Regions from separate parts of the Homo sapiens genome. Here regions 2, 3, 4, 5 and 6 are each linked to region 1. Evidence: promoter capture Hi-C in 16 types of primary human blood cells and fetal thymus (Javierre and others, 2016). All regions are on one chromosome and are shown on one strand. Each heading gives the region's core, a stretch centred on a gene start or on the middle of the fragment in contact. The rest is flanking DNA. Distances are from core to core; before and after follow the strand shown. Region 1 holds the start of RASA1 (RAS p21 protein activator 1). Region 2 overlaps TMEM167A (transmembrane protein 167A). Region 3 has its middle 8.2 kb from the start of CETN3. Region 4 overlaps CETN3 (centrin 3). Region 5 holds the start of ARRDC3 (arrestin domain containing 3). Region 6 has its middle 3.5 kb from the start of RPS23.

Region 1 (2,700 bases), core at 1-2,500:
ATTCCTACCCAAGAAACCTGAAACTTCAAAAACTTTTCCTAACAAACCACAGATGAAAAGGACAAAGTATGATTTACCCCTTCATTTCCACTTCTTTTCTGGAGCCAGCTTCCCAAATTCCTGAACAGCAGTCTTAACTTACTGGTTAGTTGGAGGAGCGGTCAACGGTATGGCCACCTCTTCCTCCTCGTATTCTGGTCCATCCAGAGAGTCACCTTCGTCCACTGTCCCGAGGCCCGCCCCCAAAGGGGGCAGGTAAGGGGGAGGGGGCAGAGGGGGAAAACCGCCGCCTGGCCCGAGAGTCTCAGCAAGCAACGAAGTGGGCAGTTTGGTGAGAGCCATGTCTCCACTAGGTCCAGCAACAGCAGCACCGGCCACGCCAGCAGCAGCACCAGCTACGCCAGCAGCAGTACCTCCCCCTGTCAGTCCAGCTCCCCCCAGTGCCCCTGCCACAGACCCGGCTCCTAGGAACTCTGACCCCAAAGCGGCTCCGCCACCCAGAGTTCCAGCCACTCCGGTCTCCACCAGCCCAGGATAGGGGGCGGCTGCCACAGGCAGGGCCGCGGGTATCTTCACCCGACACACTGCGGGATAGGCACTGGAGCCCGCTGCCGCGCCGCCTCCTCCAGCTCCGGCTGTTACCGGGCCGCCCTCCTCACTGCCGGCCTCGGCCGCCATCATGTTGAAGCCCGCTCTACTCTGCCCTACCCTGCCCGCCCGGGAGCCCCAGGGGCCACCAGGCCCGGGCTCCGAGCAGCCCCACCCAGACGCGTCTCCCCTTCAGCTCCCCAGGCTGAGGAAACAACAACAAAAGGAGAGAGCCCGCCGCCGCGCCCCCTCCTAGGGCCACAGCCCAGGCTCCCCAGCTGCCTGGGTTACGGGAAGCCAAGTGGGCAAAAAACCCAACGCCTGCACAAACGCCACCCAAACCTCACCGCACACACCCACACTCACGCACACAAACACATGTACAGAAGCGAAAACTTCCTCGCTGCACTAAAGAGGAAAGGAAGCACAGGGAAAGAGGCTGAGGCTGCTACCGCTCCTTCAGCCGCCACCACCGCTTCTTCACCACCCCAGTTCCGGCCACCCACACCGCAGCCACCGCCGGTGCCGCTGCTGAGGCTGGGGCCACTGCAGCCGCTTCATCCTCCACCAGGCAGATGAGAGGGGTGGGGGGGCAAGAGAAAGGGGGGCGGGGTAACGAGGAAATCGACTGAACTGCTCACTACCTGGAGCTCTCAGTGAGTGAAACGGGAGAGAGAGAAAGGAAGGCGGGGCAGGGGAGGAGGGACGGAGGGAAGGAAGGGCGGAGAAGGGAGAGGGCAGCTTGTGCGCAGGCGCGTTCCCGGAGCGGGGGCGGGGGGCCGGGCCGGGAGGAAAAGGAAGAGTCCAGAGGGAAGGAAGCGGCGGGGACGCGCGGTGCGTGGTCGCGCTTGCTGTCCTCCTCCGGTTCCAAGCGTGTGGCGGCGCGGCCGCATCTCCTGTTGGCGTGGCCGGCGGCGCGCGCCTGTCTCCCGGGGCTTTGTTTGATGGGCGGGAGAAGAGGGAAGGGTACCTGAGCACGCGGGTGCTTGGCGCTGTTAAAGCCGGAGAGACCAGAGGGGGACCAGGAGGCGGTGGAGAGGAAGGAGGGGGAAAGGGAAAGGAAAATGCCCAGAAACTAGTTCCGTACTTCCTGACCAGTGGAAAAAACAGCCTTAACCAGCAGCGCAGAAACCGGGCAGGGGTCAGGTAGCTTTGAAGATCGGGGCAGTACTATTAATGTTTTCTTTTTCGTTGCATGCTATAAATCACTATGACTATCTCACACACACACAGTTAAAATAGATTCTGAAACTCCAAAACGAAATAAAGGGCACCATATGAGAAGGGTGAAGAATTTGAGTAGAAATAGTGGTTATGAAGTAAGATTTCTACCAGTATTTGCATACGTTTTTCTTTATCAACTGTCTCATATACTTACCTATGCCATTATAAGTCTGTTGGATACTGATGAAGAGGAGGAGGTGCCACAGAAAACACTAATCAATGCACTTTTGTCCTGGTTTGTGTGCAAAAGACTGCAGGACGTGATCCACAATGCAAGCACCTTCAACAAGTCAAATGTCAAGAATGTCCCAGAATGCTAGTTATAATTATATATCGTTTCAAAAGTAGCAATAAACTGAAAACTCATTTTTAATACAATTAAGGAGAAGGGTGTTATTTTGTCTTTTACACTAAAATGTATACAAACTATGCATTCATGTAGAGGGAGCTTCCCATGGTTTGAAATTAACAATATTGTTAAATTCTCCCAGGAGTGATCCCACATTAAATACCATTGGATATTGATCTTTGAGATCAATATTTTCTGTGCTAAGGATGATCAAACTAACACTCAGGATGGCAAGTGGCTGTGATAGAAACCCAGGAAAAAGAGAAAAGACCACTAAAAGACGTGACAAGATACAGGCAATGCATTGCCTTTGTAAGTTTGCACAGGCCTATTTACCTAGTCAATGACAACAATCCAACTTGATTAGGAGTAGTCCTGGGGCCTCCATTACGCATATCTCTTAGCAGTGTGCTACCTGGGAGAAGGAAGATGGACCAGTCACAGGAGCTAGAGTTCTCAAAGTGAATTCAGGCCGCAACATCCTAGGAATTCAGAAATGCCACCTCAGACCTTCTGAATCAGAAAATATGCAGCGATCC
Region 2 (2,700 bases), core at 66-2,565, 4.2 Mb after region 1:
TGTAAGTAATTTCATGTCTAGACCCCTTCCTTAGCTTTGTATTGACCTTGCATCTATTCATTGATTAATTATTGCATCTCCTGTAGTGGTGGCCAAATAAAGTCTGTGAATTATTTTTATTATTTCAAAACACCTAACCAAATGTGATTTACTTCAAAATGATCAAATAAAGTAACTGACTCAAGTTTATATCCTTCCGGTTTGGGTAAATTAACTCAGTTCAATAACACTAGTTGTTTCAAGCATATCAAAAGATCTTATTGATTATGAGTTGTCAGATAAGTCTACAATGCAGAGGGTTAGTAAAAGAGCCCTTGATGACAAATCGTTTGGAGGCCTCCATTGCCATGTTTTAGAAGAATGACATAGCTCTCAGAGTAATGGTCAAGATAACCTGCGTACTCAGTCTTACAGAACCTGCGTACTCAGTCGTACAGATCTTTTGAAAGTGTATATCTCTTAAGAATTAAAAGAAGTCAGAAGAACACACACTTTCCAGTGTGCAAGCACCTTCAAAGCTTGCTGCTTGATAGAATAGAAAATCTGAATTCCAGGAGGTGATAGAAGATGTGGATACTGAATGGAAATTACCTCAGGTCTTTATTTTACCCTACAGCCTAGGTCCTTAACATAAATATAAGGAAATTTGCATCTTTCTACTTGATTTTCCAAAATATTCTTGAGAAGTAAGCATATATGCAAAGCCATACATGGAGGTTTCTCTTGAAGAGTTAACAAAATACTGTATTCAGCAATCTGATCTACACTGGTTTTTGAATGTGTATTTTTTCTTTGGAATCCAAGTATGCTCTTGGATTTGTTAAAATGTTCATTATTGCCAGTTGCGTTCAAGTTCCTGTTCATTTGACACTTTTCAGTGACTTCTCTGTGTACTATATTTTAATAGTCACAGGGGATTGATGAAAACCTCAATAGAATAGACAATCACAGTACAGTATGATGTGTTCTATAACATACACATTGTTATGTGTATGTATTATGCACATACAAAAATCCTGACTCTGCTTGGTATAGTGAGTGGGAACAGGAAAGACATCAGAGGAGGTGAATCTTGAGTTGAGATTGGACGCATGAGTCAGTTCACCAAGCAGGCAAGAACAGATAGCATGTGCAAAACTCAATAGAGTACCTTGGAAAAGGTTTCATGACTTAAAGGCCCTGAAAAAAATTAAACAAGGTAAATGAATTTGACTTACCACCTTTTAATCATCTTTTCCTCTGTTTTGTGATTAAATATGCTTACCTTTTCTTAGATTCCTCCTTTCCCTTTTAATAACATTTTTCTGTTGAAAATTGCAATTATTTTTTCACTGAAGAGGAACATCTGTTTCCTTTAACCCTGAGACTAAAATTTTATGTCACCAGACAACAGATGCTAAGCATTAAGGGGAATGCTATAGGTGGCAGGCTAATGTCCGTAAGTTAGAAACACACTTTTGACCAGAGTCTGAGTACATCTAAAAGACTTACCACCTAAGATTATTTGTTTTAAACTTTAGAGGCTTTAAACCCCCAGAACAAAGTTGTATATATCATATATTTCATACTTGTAAATGGTTTTCTTTTGTAAATGGCTTCACACACAAACGTATATACACACTCTACTTTCCTAATAGGCATGTTTTTAAGTGCCTTTTTATCTTCTATTATGAAAACATTCAAACATAAAGAGGTAGAAGCCTATAATGAACCCTCATATTCTCAGCATTTTATCATCAACCCTACCCCTCTCCCACCACACATGCACTGGATTATTTAGAAACCAATCCTGAACATTATATCATTTAAGCATGTTTTCTTTAAAAACACATTTGGAGAAGGAAAGAGAACACATTACAAAGTCATGAATTTAGATACTGCATTAGGAAAATGATAAACCTACTTTGAAGATTTGTTTTCCAACCATTTTACTGTAGGAATCTTTTGCTTAAAATACAGTAAGATTCTCATTATTCCCTGAACGTGCCAATGACTTTTTCTGTAGGGTTTTTTTCCCACATTTTTTTTTCTCTTCTGGAGCTTGCTATTTGCCCATCTGAATGGTGCCCTTTCAAGGTTTGACTCCGTTCCTGCTTTCTACATGAAGCTTTTCCTGACTTTTTCTTACAAAAATGGCATTTTTTGTCTGCATAACTCACTTCCACATTCAACAATGAGTTACTATTTACTTTTTAAAGTACATGCTCTGTTTTCACTTGATTACTTGATTATAACTGCTGTGTGCCTCAGTCTCATGTATAAAATACAGGTAATAACAATCATGAATAAAATTCAGGTAATATTTACCCCAGATACATGAGGATAACATAAAACAAGTACTCAGTGAATATCAGTAATTGCTATTGTTAGCCATAAACTCCTGTAGGGAAGGAATCATACCATGTGCCTTTTTTTTAATCCCCACTGCCTCATTTCTCAGACAAAGTGGATACCAAATACACATTTAGTTATGTTGGGAGGAAATCTGCTTTATTTTCTATGAGGTCATTATCCAATATTATTTATTAATATATTCACATACATATTCAAAATATGACCTTTGAAAGATAAGCATTGTGAGATACCATGCTTTTTATCTACAATTGATCATGAGCTAATTCATTGATTTATGTTATAAAATGTGTATCACTGGCTTTCACAGGTTTAAGATTAAAACCCAATTTAATTAAAACCCAAGAT
Region 3 (2,700 bases), core at 117-2,616, 3.2 Mb before region 1:
TTATTTTCTGTTTTGTTGGTGAAGCCCAATTTATTATTTTCTGTTTTGCCGTTTCGGTACTTTCCACTGAAGATCCTTCCTGATCCCTTTCTCCAGTTGCCATTGTTCTCTCCAGAGTTAACCACTGGTTAAATAGCTTGGTGTGTATTTTATTTATATAAAGATATTTTATTTATATAAAAATGTGCACTTGGGCCAGGTACGGTGGCTCACGCCTATAGTCCCAGCACTTTGGGAGGCCAATGCAGGTGGATCACCCGAGGTTGGAGTTCGAGACCAGCCTGACCAACGTGGTGAAACCCCATCTCTACTAAAAATACAAAAATCAGCCAGGATTGGTGGCACGGGCTTGTACTCTCAGCTACTTGGAAGGCTGAGGCAGGAGAATCGCTTGAACCTGGGAGGCAGAGGTTGCAGTGAACTGAGATTGCACCGCTGGACTCGAGCCTGAGTGACAAAACAAGATTCTGTCTCAAAAAAAAAAAAAAGTACATTTGTGTACTCAGATCTATCATTATTTTATGGCTTCTAATGTTGGTAATTATGCTGAGGAAGTCTTTCTGAATTCTAAAATTATTAAACTAAGTATATGTTCTTTTAACTTTTTTTATAGTTAAACTTTCAACTTGTTTTGATTGTATTTTGATACAAAATCTGAAATGTGGATCTAACTTTATTTTCCCAATGGACTGTAGAATACATTTTGTCCAGATGAATTTTTCCTTCTATTCTGCATTTTTATCAAAGTACTTCATAGATGTGGTTTACTAAATATAGTTCATAAGGGTAAAAGTCGCCTGTCCCATTCTTTTCCATTTTCTGTTTCAACTGTGAAAGCAGTTGTGGGGACAAAATAAAGAATTTAGAAAATTTGCCTGTCATATACCATTTCTGAGTTCCTGAAGATATACTCCAGCAAAGTAAGAGTGAAACATAACAGGATGAAGATGTGAAATATGAGAAACAGTGAGTTTAACCAAGGAATCCAACTGTTGTTTTACAGATCTAAAAAGCAATTGGGCAATTGGTCTCAGTTGGAATAGGTAATCAGTGTCTCATTTCCCATTTCCCAGAGGTAATACATTTTAAGTACTCCAACAGTCTCATCTTTTTAAGAAAATAGACCATTTTTTAGAGCAGTTTTAGGTTCACAGCAAAATTGAGCAGAAATTTCAGAGCTCACGTATCCTCTGCCCCTATACTTGTGCAACCTCTCCCCTACTATCAACATCTTGCATGAGAGAGGTATATTTATGACAACTGATGAACCTACATTTGAGAGACAGGACTAGTTGGATTTCCTAGGCTGACTAAGAATTCCTAAGCCTAGCTGGGGAAGTGACTGCACCTACCTTTAAACACAGGGCTTGTAACTCAGCTCACTAAAATACCAATTAGGCTAAAAGCAGGAGGTAAAGAAATAGTCAATCATCTATCACCTGAGAGCACAGGGGGAGGGACAATGATCAGGATAAAAACCCAGGCGTTCCAGCCAGCAGTGGCAACTCCCTTTGGGTGCCCTCCTGTTGTATGGGAGCTCTGTTTTCACTCTATTAAATCTTGCAACTGCACACTCTTCTGGTCCCTGTTTGTTCTGGCTCGAGCTGAGCTTTCGCTCACTGTCCACCACTGCTGATCGCTGTCATTGCAGACACTGCTGCTGACTTCCACCCTCCAGATCCAGCAGGGTGTCCACTGCACTTCTGATCCAGTGAGGCACCCATTGCCACTCCTGATGGGGCTAAAGGCTCACCATTGTTCCTGTGCAGCTAAGTGCCCAGGTTCGTCCTAATCAAGCTGAACACTAGTCGCTGGGTTCCACAGTTCTCTTCCATGACCCACAGCTTCTAATAGAGCTATTACACTCACTGCATGGCCCAAGGTTCCATTCCTTGGAATCTGTGAGGCCAAGAACTCCAGGTCAGAGAGCAAAAGGCTTGCCACCATCTTGGGAGTGGCCCGCCACCATCTTGGGAACTCTTAAGAACAAAGACCTGCCAGTAACACATTGATGTGTTATCACATTATTATCATCTGAAGTAAAGAGCTCACATTAAGATTCACTTTTGGTGTTGTACATTCCATGGGTATTAACAAATATATCATTAAATCTGTCCATTATTATAGGATCATATAGAATAGTGTTCACTGCCCTAAACATCCTCTGTGCTCTGCCTATTCATGCCTCCTCTGCCTGATCCCTGATGGCCACTGATCTTTTTGCTGCCTCCGTAGTTTTTATCTTTTCCAAAATGTCACATTGTTGGAATCATACAGTATGTAGCCTTTCAGATTTGCCTTCTTTTACTTAGTAATATGCATGTAAGTTTCCTTCATGTTATTTCATGGCTTGATAGCTTTTTTCTTTTTACTGAGTTCTTTTTATTTTTTTGAGACAGTCTAACTCTGTCACCCAGGCTAGAGTGCAGTGGCACAGTAGTTCCCTGCAACCTTGACCTCCTGGGCTCAAGCAATCCTCCTGCCTTAGCTTCTCAAGCAGCTAGGACCACAGGTGTGTGCCATCGTGCCTAACTATTTAAAACATTTTTGGGGGCTGGGTATGGTGGCTCACACCTGTAATCCCAAGACTTTGACAGGCAGAGGCGGGTGGATCACTTGAGGTCAGCAGTTCCAGACCAGCCTGCGCAACATGGTGAAACCCTGTCTCTCCTAAAAATAAAAAAATTAGCCGGGTATGGT
Region 4 (2,700 bases), core at 140-2,639, 3.1 Mb before region 1:
TTCCCAAGAAAAGCTGCATTTTAAGGAAGAATATTGATAAAAGAATATATAGACACATAGCTCTGAAATAACTAACACAATTAAAGTACCAGTGGGATAAGAATTTATACATCTTGGAGCCCCATCTGTTCCCCAATCACCCTGTTGCTTCTTTAAGTACATTAATACTTTCAGCAAGCTGCTTTTTTGGTTCACCTGTCATGTAAATTATTTAATTGGTGAAGAAAATTTCTTAACACTTTTTTTCCTTGTCCTGCTTTTTTGTTGGGACTAAATTCAAAATAAGTTGAGTATGTGCCATAGAGTTAAGTGTGGTATTTTATTTTGGTGTTATGGCTGTAGATATGCCAGCTTCTTTTTGACTGAATATTTATGAGCTTTGATGATTTGCATACTTACAGTAATATACTTCAATTAGTTACTTGGAAGCCTTTTTGGATAAAATTAATGGATAAAAGGAAACTATTGAAAATATGTGTAGATGATATAATAGTCATTTGAATAGGTGATTATTGAACCAAATACGGGTGAAACAGCAGCAAAACAACAGCTTGTTGGAGACTTCGATTGTATTTTTTTCATTCTGGGTTCCTTAAACATTCCAGTATTTTCCATCTATAAGCAGTTGCTTTTTTTTTTTTTTTTAATGATTCTGTAACCTTCAACAGGACCGAGTTATTTTTAATAGCATAGTAAAGGCCATAAATACCTTTTCTTGTAGTGGCAGATAGTGTATATAATTACTTCAGAGATACTTATTTAGATACTGTTAGAATTTTATTTAGTAACTTACCAATTTTTATGCCATAGATTTTTATTTTAATTTTTATTGTGGCTATTGATTAAAGACTGGTAAAATTGAAAATACTTAAGCTTATTACTATGTTATTACATGTGATTATATTTAGTGTATTAAAATACACAATTACCATTGAGGTTTGAAACTACATTTATTTTTAGTTAGTTGTCTGAGAGTGATTTATCCAAACAAAATGGGTAAGCTTTAAGGAGACCTTCTTTGCAGAGGTTTTTTTTGGGTGGGCTTTCCTGCTATAGTCAGATTTGATCCTATTTACTACTTTGTAAATTTTGGAAAACCAAGAGGTTCTTCTAATCACAAAGGTATTAGTGGAATTTTCAAATGCTGTCTGAGATTGTGCCTGTGTCTGCGATGGCAGTACTTTTTGTCTCTTGCAGTTTTTCTTGTTTTGAAGTTGGATTAAATTTGAGGAAGAATCAGTGTTAGTATGACGTTTAGTCAGCAAGCAGCTTTTATTTAGTTAGCTCCAATTATTTTGTTGGTATGTCTCTCCACAGGTAGATGACACACTCCTTGTGTGCTTGATGTCAGTGGAGCCTAGTACAATTCTTGATAATAGTAGATCTTAAATAAATATGGTATAAATGTAGTCCTTTTTATTTTGCCTCTGTGTGATATAGTTTTGCTTACTTTTATAATAAGACAAGTTGCTCATGATAAAAAAGGTTAACATTTAAAATATGGATTTGATTTTTCTAATTTCAGGTTTATCTCGGGGTTTGGGGATCTCATTTGACATTTTATTGTCAGACTAAAAGTTGACAGTCACAGCTTTAATTCTCATCTAATATTTAGTTGATTTCACAAATGAATGCCTTTGTGATTATGCAGGTTTATTAAAATATATATGTTTTTAAACTGTAGTGACAGACTGGATATTGGAAAGAGATCCCCATGAAGAAATACTCAAGGCATTTAAACTATTTGATGATGATGATTCAGGTAAAATAAGCTTGAGGAATTTGCGACGTGTTGCTAGAGAATTGGGTGAAAACATGAGTGATGAAGAACTTCGAGCTATGATAGAAGAATTTGACAAAGATGGTGATGGAGAAAGTAAGTTTTAAGTGAAACGTATTTTCCAGGTTTTCCTGATGCTACACATGTAATACATTTTTCTAAAACCAAATGACTTGCAAGACTTTTTTGTAAACTTAACTGCTTCTTGTAATGGACCTTCTGTCTAAATAATTCACATATTCAATTTAGAATGAAGCAGATCTCTAAAACCAATTATACTTCAAGAAGGTCCTTCACTTTTCTCTGAAGGTGAAACCACCAAAATTTCAGCCTTTCAATATAATTTCAGTCTTTAATGGCTTCTCCCTCAACCTACATGCTAAGTTCTAAGTTCTATTGATTTTCCCCTTCAAATGTTTTGAATCTGTTTTTATCTTTGTCCATTGTGGCTGTCCTAGTTCAGGCCCTAATTTCTAGTTAGGAATGTTATAATGGCCTCATTTATTCTTGCCTTGGCTGCCTACTGGGTGCAGTGTCCTGCGTGTTGACTGGTGCTACACAATGAAAAAGGCAGATGTGGTTCTTGCTTTCACTTTGCAGTCTCTTGTAGTGTCCTAATTGCCCTTTCGGCATATAAAAGTCTCTAATCTCTTCTTCAGTCTCTTGGTATCATTCTTTTCCTAAAATATACATTTGATAATGCCATTTCTGTGTTTAGACACTTGAAACGATTCTTCAGTGCCTACAGAGTAAAGTTCAAAGCCTTCTATGATCTATCCCACCTTGAGTAACTGATTTTACTTTCCAGTGTATTCTTTCACTTTTCTTCTTTAACCCTCACCTCCTGTATGTACACATTTTGTCAACATATGCTATCCTGAAAACACATTTTTATGCTATTCGTTTCATCCTGCTGTTTC
Region 5 (2,700 bases), core at 191-2,690, 4.1 Mb before region 1:
GAACCCGGGAGGCAGAGGCCGCAGAGAGCCTAGATTGTGCCACTGCACTCCAGCCTGGGCAACAGAGTGAGACTCCATCTCAAAAAATAAAAATATAATGAAAATGGCAGCTGGTAAGAATTTCTTGGAAATTTGCCAGTTACCTAAGTATTTAAGAAGACACAGTAAAAAGAAAATTTTAAAAATAGCAAAATAAATAATAAAGACAACTATTCAAAAGATCCTGAAAGCTTCAAACACAAAGAATAATGTACTACACAGTGACAGGAATGAAACATTTAATATTTTAAAACAATTTTCCAAACTACAAATAAATTTCTTAGACTTCTTTTTTATTAAATGCAATTCTGGTGTATTTATATAGCTAATTCTTATTTTTTCTGAAATGAGTTATATTCTAATTAAATAAATTTTACTAAAAAAATCCGAATTCAGCTGTTCACTAACCCTTAATAATTTTTAACATAAATGTAGACACAAATGTGCAATGAATTTATGTATTCATTATGGACTACACTTTTAAATCCATTCCTTGCTCAGTGGTTTTCGAATGCTTATTAAATATCATTGACCTTATGCTGAGGAAAAGCTGTCATTCTAGGAAATTCACCACTTCTACCACTAGGTGGAGAAAAAACACAAGTAGTATCTGTAATCAAAGCTAGTACAAGGCCCCAGGTACTTTACCTAGAATTTCCACCAGGTGTCAACCAAGAGGTAGGGAAAAGATAAGACTGTTTTTCCCACTTAAATATGCAAATTTATAATTTTATGCATAGCGATCTAAACTCTGAAATAAATGGCCTGCTCATTAATTGTCTAGTTTGCATATTTATACTCTTTATATATTGCTGTTGAGTCCAAGATATTGCCTTGTCAACTAAAATCCAACCCCCAAAAGCTTAGTTTCTTTTGAAATAAAACAGCAAGACCAATAAGTTTAGTTTATTGTGACTCATAGGCTCAACCTATCCATATACACTACGCAAAAGAATCTAAAACGTTTAGACACGGACAGCCAAAAATCTTCCAAGGTATTTTTGGTCATACATATATATATAGAGAGAGCACCAGATTCATATTTTTTCTTTCTACATTTCTCTTGTAAGGCAGTTCTGTTGATTGCCAGTAATCTAGATGAGTTTATGCTGTTATGCTCTGAATCCCAGTGTGATGTGACGAAAGCACTGCTATTTTTTACCAAACATTCACAATAAAAAGAGAAATGTACCTATATTTAAGATGTATCATGAGAATTACTACGTTAAATGGTCCAAGGCTCTCGGCCGAAAATTAAAGCTTCACACAGTTAAATCCCTATTTATATACCAAATCATGCTTTTTAAAAACAATTTTATGCGCTTCACTAATTTCTAACAAAGATTTTCCGATTCTGTTGCAAACAATATGTCAGCTAAACCACTATGTCATATGCCTTTTATAAGGTAGTACTTTTTTAGGCCGAACTCTATTCTTATTCCTCTGGACACAGGAGTTGTAATCATGTCTTACTCTGCAAATCTAGCCGTAGGTGGTGTCTTAAAAGGACTTTTTCTTCCTTCGAGGAAGTGATCAAGCTTCCCCCAGCCCCCACCCGTGTCATCCTGGAAACAACTTGGTTGTTTTTCGGTGCTAATTAAGCAATGTAGGAGAAAGAAGTTGAGGAGACAGCAAAGCCTATTGATTACATTGTACTTGCTTCTCTACCTCGCTCTTCAAAGGATTAAGGTTCCTTTGACCTCGACTGAGTTCATTTCCAACCTGCCTACAAAGTACTGGTTTAAAAAAAAAAAATCCAAGCAAAGTATGCTCTTGTCTATGAACAATATTTCTTGTCCGGTTTTATTACGTTTTCTTTGGAAATTCGTTAGATTATGCTCAACAATCGGCCGCTTGCCCAACCGGTTTCTCCCTTCCCCCATCTCTCTTCACACATCACTTTTTCCTCCTCCCATCCAGGCAGTTGGTAAAACGCTGCAGTGCCGGTAACGCACGCTTCGGGCTGGTCGCTGCAGTTTATCCTAACTTGGCTTTGCAAACTCCCCACCCAGCCCTTGTACCCTCGCACCCCACTCTGCCATTATCTTTCTAGTAGAGTGCGCTCGGTAACGGGCTCCAGATAGCACGTCGAGGGTATACGGTAGCCTGCCTACCAATAGGAGCCCACAATGAAGAGAAGTCAGGTTCAGCCGGCCAGCAGCTCCAGTATCTCCTTCCCCTAGCTCTACACCTACTGTACCCGGGAGCGAGCGGGCAAGGGAGCGAGCGCGGCGCGGCGCGGCGCGGGAGGGGGCGCGCAGGGAGGGCGGACAGCAGCCGCGGCCTGCGCCTGCGCACTGGGGTTGTTTTTCACAAAGCTGCTCTTAAAGTGAGCTGGCAGCTTTTAGCCGCCCGTCTTTGTAAGGAGACCACTGAGACGAGCGGGAGCGCGGAGCAGCAGCCTCTGCTGCCCTGACTTTTTAAGAAATCTCAATGAACTATTTGTAGAGAATCACTGATCCGGCCTGCAAGCATTTTGCACGGCAAAAATATCGATCAGTGTTAAGTGAAGATCACATTTTATATGCGATCTTGACTTTTTTGTCTTACATTATATTTTTATAGATTTTGTTATAAACATGGTGCTGGGAAAGGTGAAGAGTTTGACAATAAGCTTTGACTGTCTTAATGACAGCAATGTCCCTGTGTATTCTAGTGGGG
Region 6 (2,700 bases), core at 155-2,654, 5.0 Mb after region 1:
TGTGATCTCGGTTCACTGCAACCTCTGCCACCCGGGTTCAAGCGATTCTCCTGCCTCAGCCTCCCGAGTAGCTGGGACTACAGGCAGACGCGACCATGCCCAGCTAATTCTTTTTTTCTTTGTATTTTTAGTAAAGAGATGGGGTTTCACTATGTTGGCCAGGCTGGTCTTGAACTCCTGACCTCAAGTGATCCACCTGCCTCAGTCTCCGAAAGTGCTAGGATTACAGATGTGAGCCACCATGGCTGGTCTATTCCTGTCCTTTGTCATGTTTTCTCACTGTATTATTTGTTCTTTTATATTATTCTGTAGAAGGGATTTTTTTGTTTGTTTCTTTTGAGACAGAGTCTCACTTTGTTGCCCAGGCTGGAGTGCAATGGAGCGATCTCGGCTCACTGCAACCTCTGCCTCCTCAGTTCAAGCGATTTTCCTGCCTCAGCCTCCTGAGTAACTGGGATTACAGGCATGCGCCACCACACCCGGCTAATTTTTGTATTTTCAGTAGAGAGGGGGTTTCACCATGTTGGCCAGGCTGGTCTCGAATTCCTGACCTCACGTGATCCCCCTGCCTCGGCCTCCCAAAGTGCTGGGATTACAGGTGTGAGCCACCACGCCCGGCCAGAAATTTTTTAAAATATTAATCCTTTGTAAGTTTTGTGGCTATGAATAGCAATTCTCAGTATGGAACTTGTCTTTTCACTTTCTTTCAGATGTTTTTGATGAATAGAGGGTCTTAATTTTAATATGATCAAATTTATCATTCTTGTCATGTGTAGAAACATTTTCCTTTCCTAAGTTCAAAAAGATATTCACCTTTGTTCTCTATTAAGAATTTCAAAGTTTTCTTGTTGATATTTAAGCCCTTAATTTATCCAGAGTTGATTTATGCTTTCAGTGTAAGACAGTGACACAATTTCATTGAGTAATCACTTTTTGTGTGGCTCCATCTTTTTTAAATATTATTTTTAAATTATTTATTCTTTAACAAAATCTGTGTATATTTATGGTTTACAACATATTTTAAATATATATGTACATTGTACAATGGTTAAATAGAGCTAACTAACATATGCATTACCTCAAATACTTTTGTATCATTTTTCTGTGGTGAGAACACTTAAAATCTATTCTTTTAGCAATTTTCAATATAAACTTTGTTATTTATACAGTTGACCCTTGAACAACATGGGGGTTAGGGATGCTGACCTCCCCACACAGTAGAAAATCTGTGTATAACTTCCGACTTTCCGAAAACTTAACTACTAATAGCCTACTGTTGACTGGAACTCTTACTGATAACATAAACAGCCTATTAACACATATTTCATGTTACGTGTATTACATACCATATTCTTACAATAAATTAAGCCACAGAAATGAATGTTAATAACAAAATTAGAAAGAAGAGAAAATTTATTTACTACTCATTAAATGGAAATGGATCATCATAAAGGTCATCACATTGAGTAGGCTGAGGAGGAGGAAGAGGAAGAGGAGTTTTTGCTTTCTCGGGGTGTCAGAGGCAGAAGAAAATCTGCCTGTATGTGGACCCACACAATTCAAACCCATATTGTTTGTGGGTCAACTGGAGTCACCATGTTATTCAACAAGTCTCTCGAAAATTTTCTCCTCCTGTCAAACTAAACCTTTGTATCCTTTGACCAACAGCTCCCCAGATCCCCCAAACTCCCACGCCCACCATTCTACTCACTGCTTCTATCCGTTCAAAATTTTTAGATTCCACATATAAGTGTAAACATGCAGTATTTGTGAATCTGAAGAAATACACATAACTCACTGATGTCACTTCATAAACACAGATTTCAAATGGGCTCTCAGAACTGCTCAAAAAACCTATTTTCTTGTCAATGCATTTTCCTACCATTCTAGATTAGGAGGCAGTATAAGAGGGGTCAAATACAAGATTCTAAAACCAGATTACCTGGGTTAAAATCTTACTTCTACCACTTACTAAATACGTGATCTTGGGGAAGTTAAACTCACCAAAGCCTCAGTTTTTGTATATCTATCCCTCAGTAAAATTATCGTTATCTGTCCCTCAGTAAAATTCCTTATGAGAATAAAATGAGTTAATAAATATAAGCCAAAAATAGAATCTGGCACATAGTAAATACTATCTAATGCTTATATTGTTATCATTGATGATGATTTCACATCTTACCTTCTCTCCTCAAACCTTTTTCTCCCACTCTTTCTCTTCACTGATGGCCTTGCTTTTTATTTCATTGAAAAAATTGAAAAAGTAAGTCAAAAGTGAAGAAGTTCCACAACTTCCTATCATCAAATCTTCCAATTTACTTGCAGCTGTACCTGTCACTCTACTACCATACATAAACTGTTATTGTTCCTACAGTTAACTCCTCCACTTGGGTACCCTTCTAGTCTACTTAAGGAGTTGCTCCTGCAATTATCCCTTCTCTGCTGAATAACCCATTTTTAATTTTCTCAACCTGATCAGCATACAAAAATGTCATAAAAGTTGCCATCTTAAAAATAAAACCCTCCAACTCCACATTCCCCTCCAAATAGGGTGCCATTTCTCTGCACATAAAAAATGTCTTTCAAAAATTGTCTATAGTTGCTGTCTAGACTTCCTTCCCTCCCATATTCTCTTCACTCCGATCCCATCGCCTTTCACTTTCAGTACTCCATGGAGTCCCCATTTGACAAAGTGACCAG

The links. Contacts are between HindIII fragments. The CHiCAGO score rates a contact against its expected background, and 5 or more counts as called.
Region 2: a contact is called between a fragment that was not itself captured here and the fragment with the promoter of RASA1 in region 1, in 1 of 17 cell types (activated CD4 T cells). The highest score is 5.1, in activated CD4 T cells.
Region 3: a contact is called between a fragment that was not itself captured here and the fragment with the promoter of RASA1 in region 1, in 2 of 17 cell types (non-activated CD4 T cells and total B cells). The highest score is 6.4, in non-activated CD4 T cells.
Region 4: a fragment that was not itself captured here is called in contact with the fragment with the promoter of RASA1 in region 1 in 1 of 17 cell types (total B cells); the score reaches 5.8 in total B cells.
Region 5: a contact is called between a fragment that was not itself captured here and the fragment with the promoter of RASA1 in region 1, in 5 of 17 cell types (non-activated CD4 T cells, naive B cells, total B cells and 2 more). The highest score is 8.4, in non-activated CD4 T cells.
Region 6: a contact is called between a fragment that was not itself captured here and the fragment with the promoter of RASA1 in region 1, in 2 of 17 cell types (non-activated CD4 T cells and monocytes). The highest score is 7.2, in non-activated CD4 T cells.

What each region holds. Positions count from the first base shown.
Region 1 is chr5:87,266,433-87,269,132 of GRCh38, reverse strand. RASA1 (RAS p21 protein activator 1) reads right to left here and starts at 1,250. Exons shown (of 25, transcript NM_002890.3): 1 at 143-1,250. The coding sequence starts at 681. RefSeq lists enhancers at 479-528, 286-1,173, 1,227-1,521 and silencers at 709-888, 1,229-1,478. The HindIII fragment of the contact is 5,594 bases long and covers 1-2,700 here.
Region 2 is chr5:83,067,969-83,070,668 of GRCh38, reverse strand. All of the region lies in intron 1 of TMEM167A (transmembrane protein 167A), which reads left to right. Among named protein-coding and RNA genes, the nearest start is that of TMEM167A, 8.1 kb to the left of the region's middle. The HindIII fragment of the contact is 1,589 bases long and covers 521-2,109 here.
Region 3 is chr5:90,416,630-90,419,329 of GRCh38, reverse strand. No RefSeq gene overlaps it. Among named protein-coding and RNA genes, the nearest start is that of CETN3, 8.2 kb to the right of the region's middle. The HindIII fragment of the contact is 7,813 bases long and covers 1-2,700 here.
Region 4 is chr5:90,398,534-90,401,233 of GRCh38, reverse strand. CETN3 (centrin 3) reads left to right here. Exons shown (of 5, transcript NM_004365.4): 4 at 1,685-1,876. Among named protein-coding and RNA genes, the nearest start is that of CETN3, 9.9 kb to the left of the region's middle. The HindIII fragment of the contact is 771 bases long and covers 1,004-1,774 here.
Region 5 is chr5:91,383,011-91,385,710 of GRCh38, reverse strand. It overlaps ARRDC3 (arrestin domain containing 3), which reads left to right and starts at 2,394. Exons shown (of 8, transcript NM_020801.4): 1 at 2,394-2,700. The coding sequence starts at 2,619. All of the region lies in intron 1 of ARRDC3-AS1 (ARRDC3 antisense RNA 1), which reads right to left. RefSeq lists enhancers at 1,628-1,927, 1,807-2,324 and a silencer at 2,178-2,487. The HindIII fragment of the contact is 278 bases long and covers 1,302-1,579 here.
Region 6 is chr5:82,280,494-82,283,193 of GRCh38, reverse strand. It overlaps the pseudogene ATP6AP1L. Among named protein-coding and RNA genes, the nearest start is that of RPS23, 3.5 kb to the right of the region's middle. The HindIII fragment of the contact is 5,869 bases long and covers 1-2,700 here.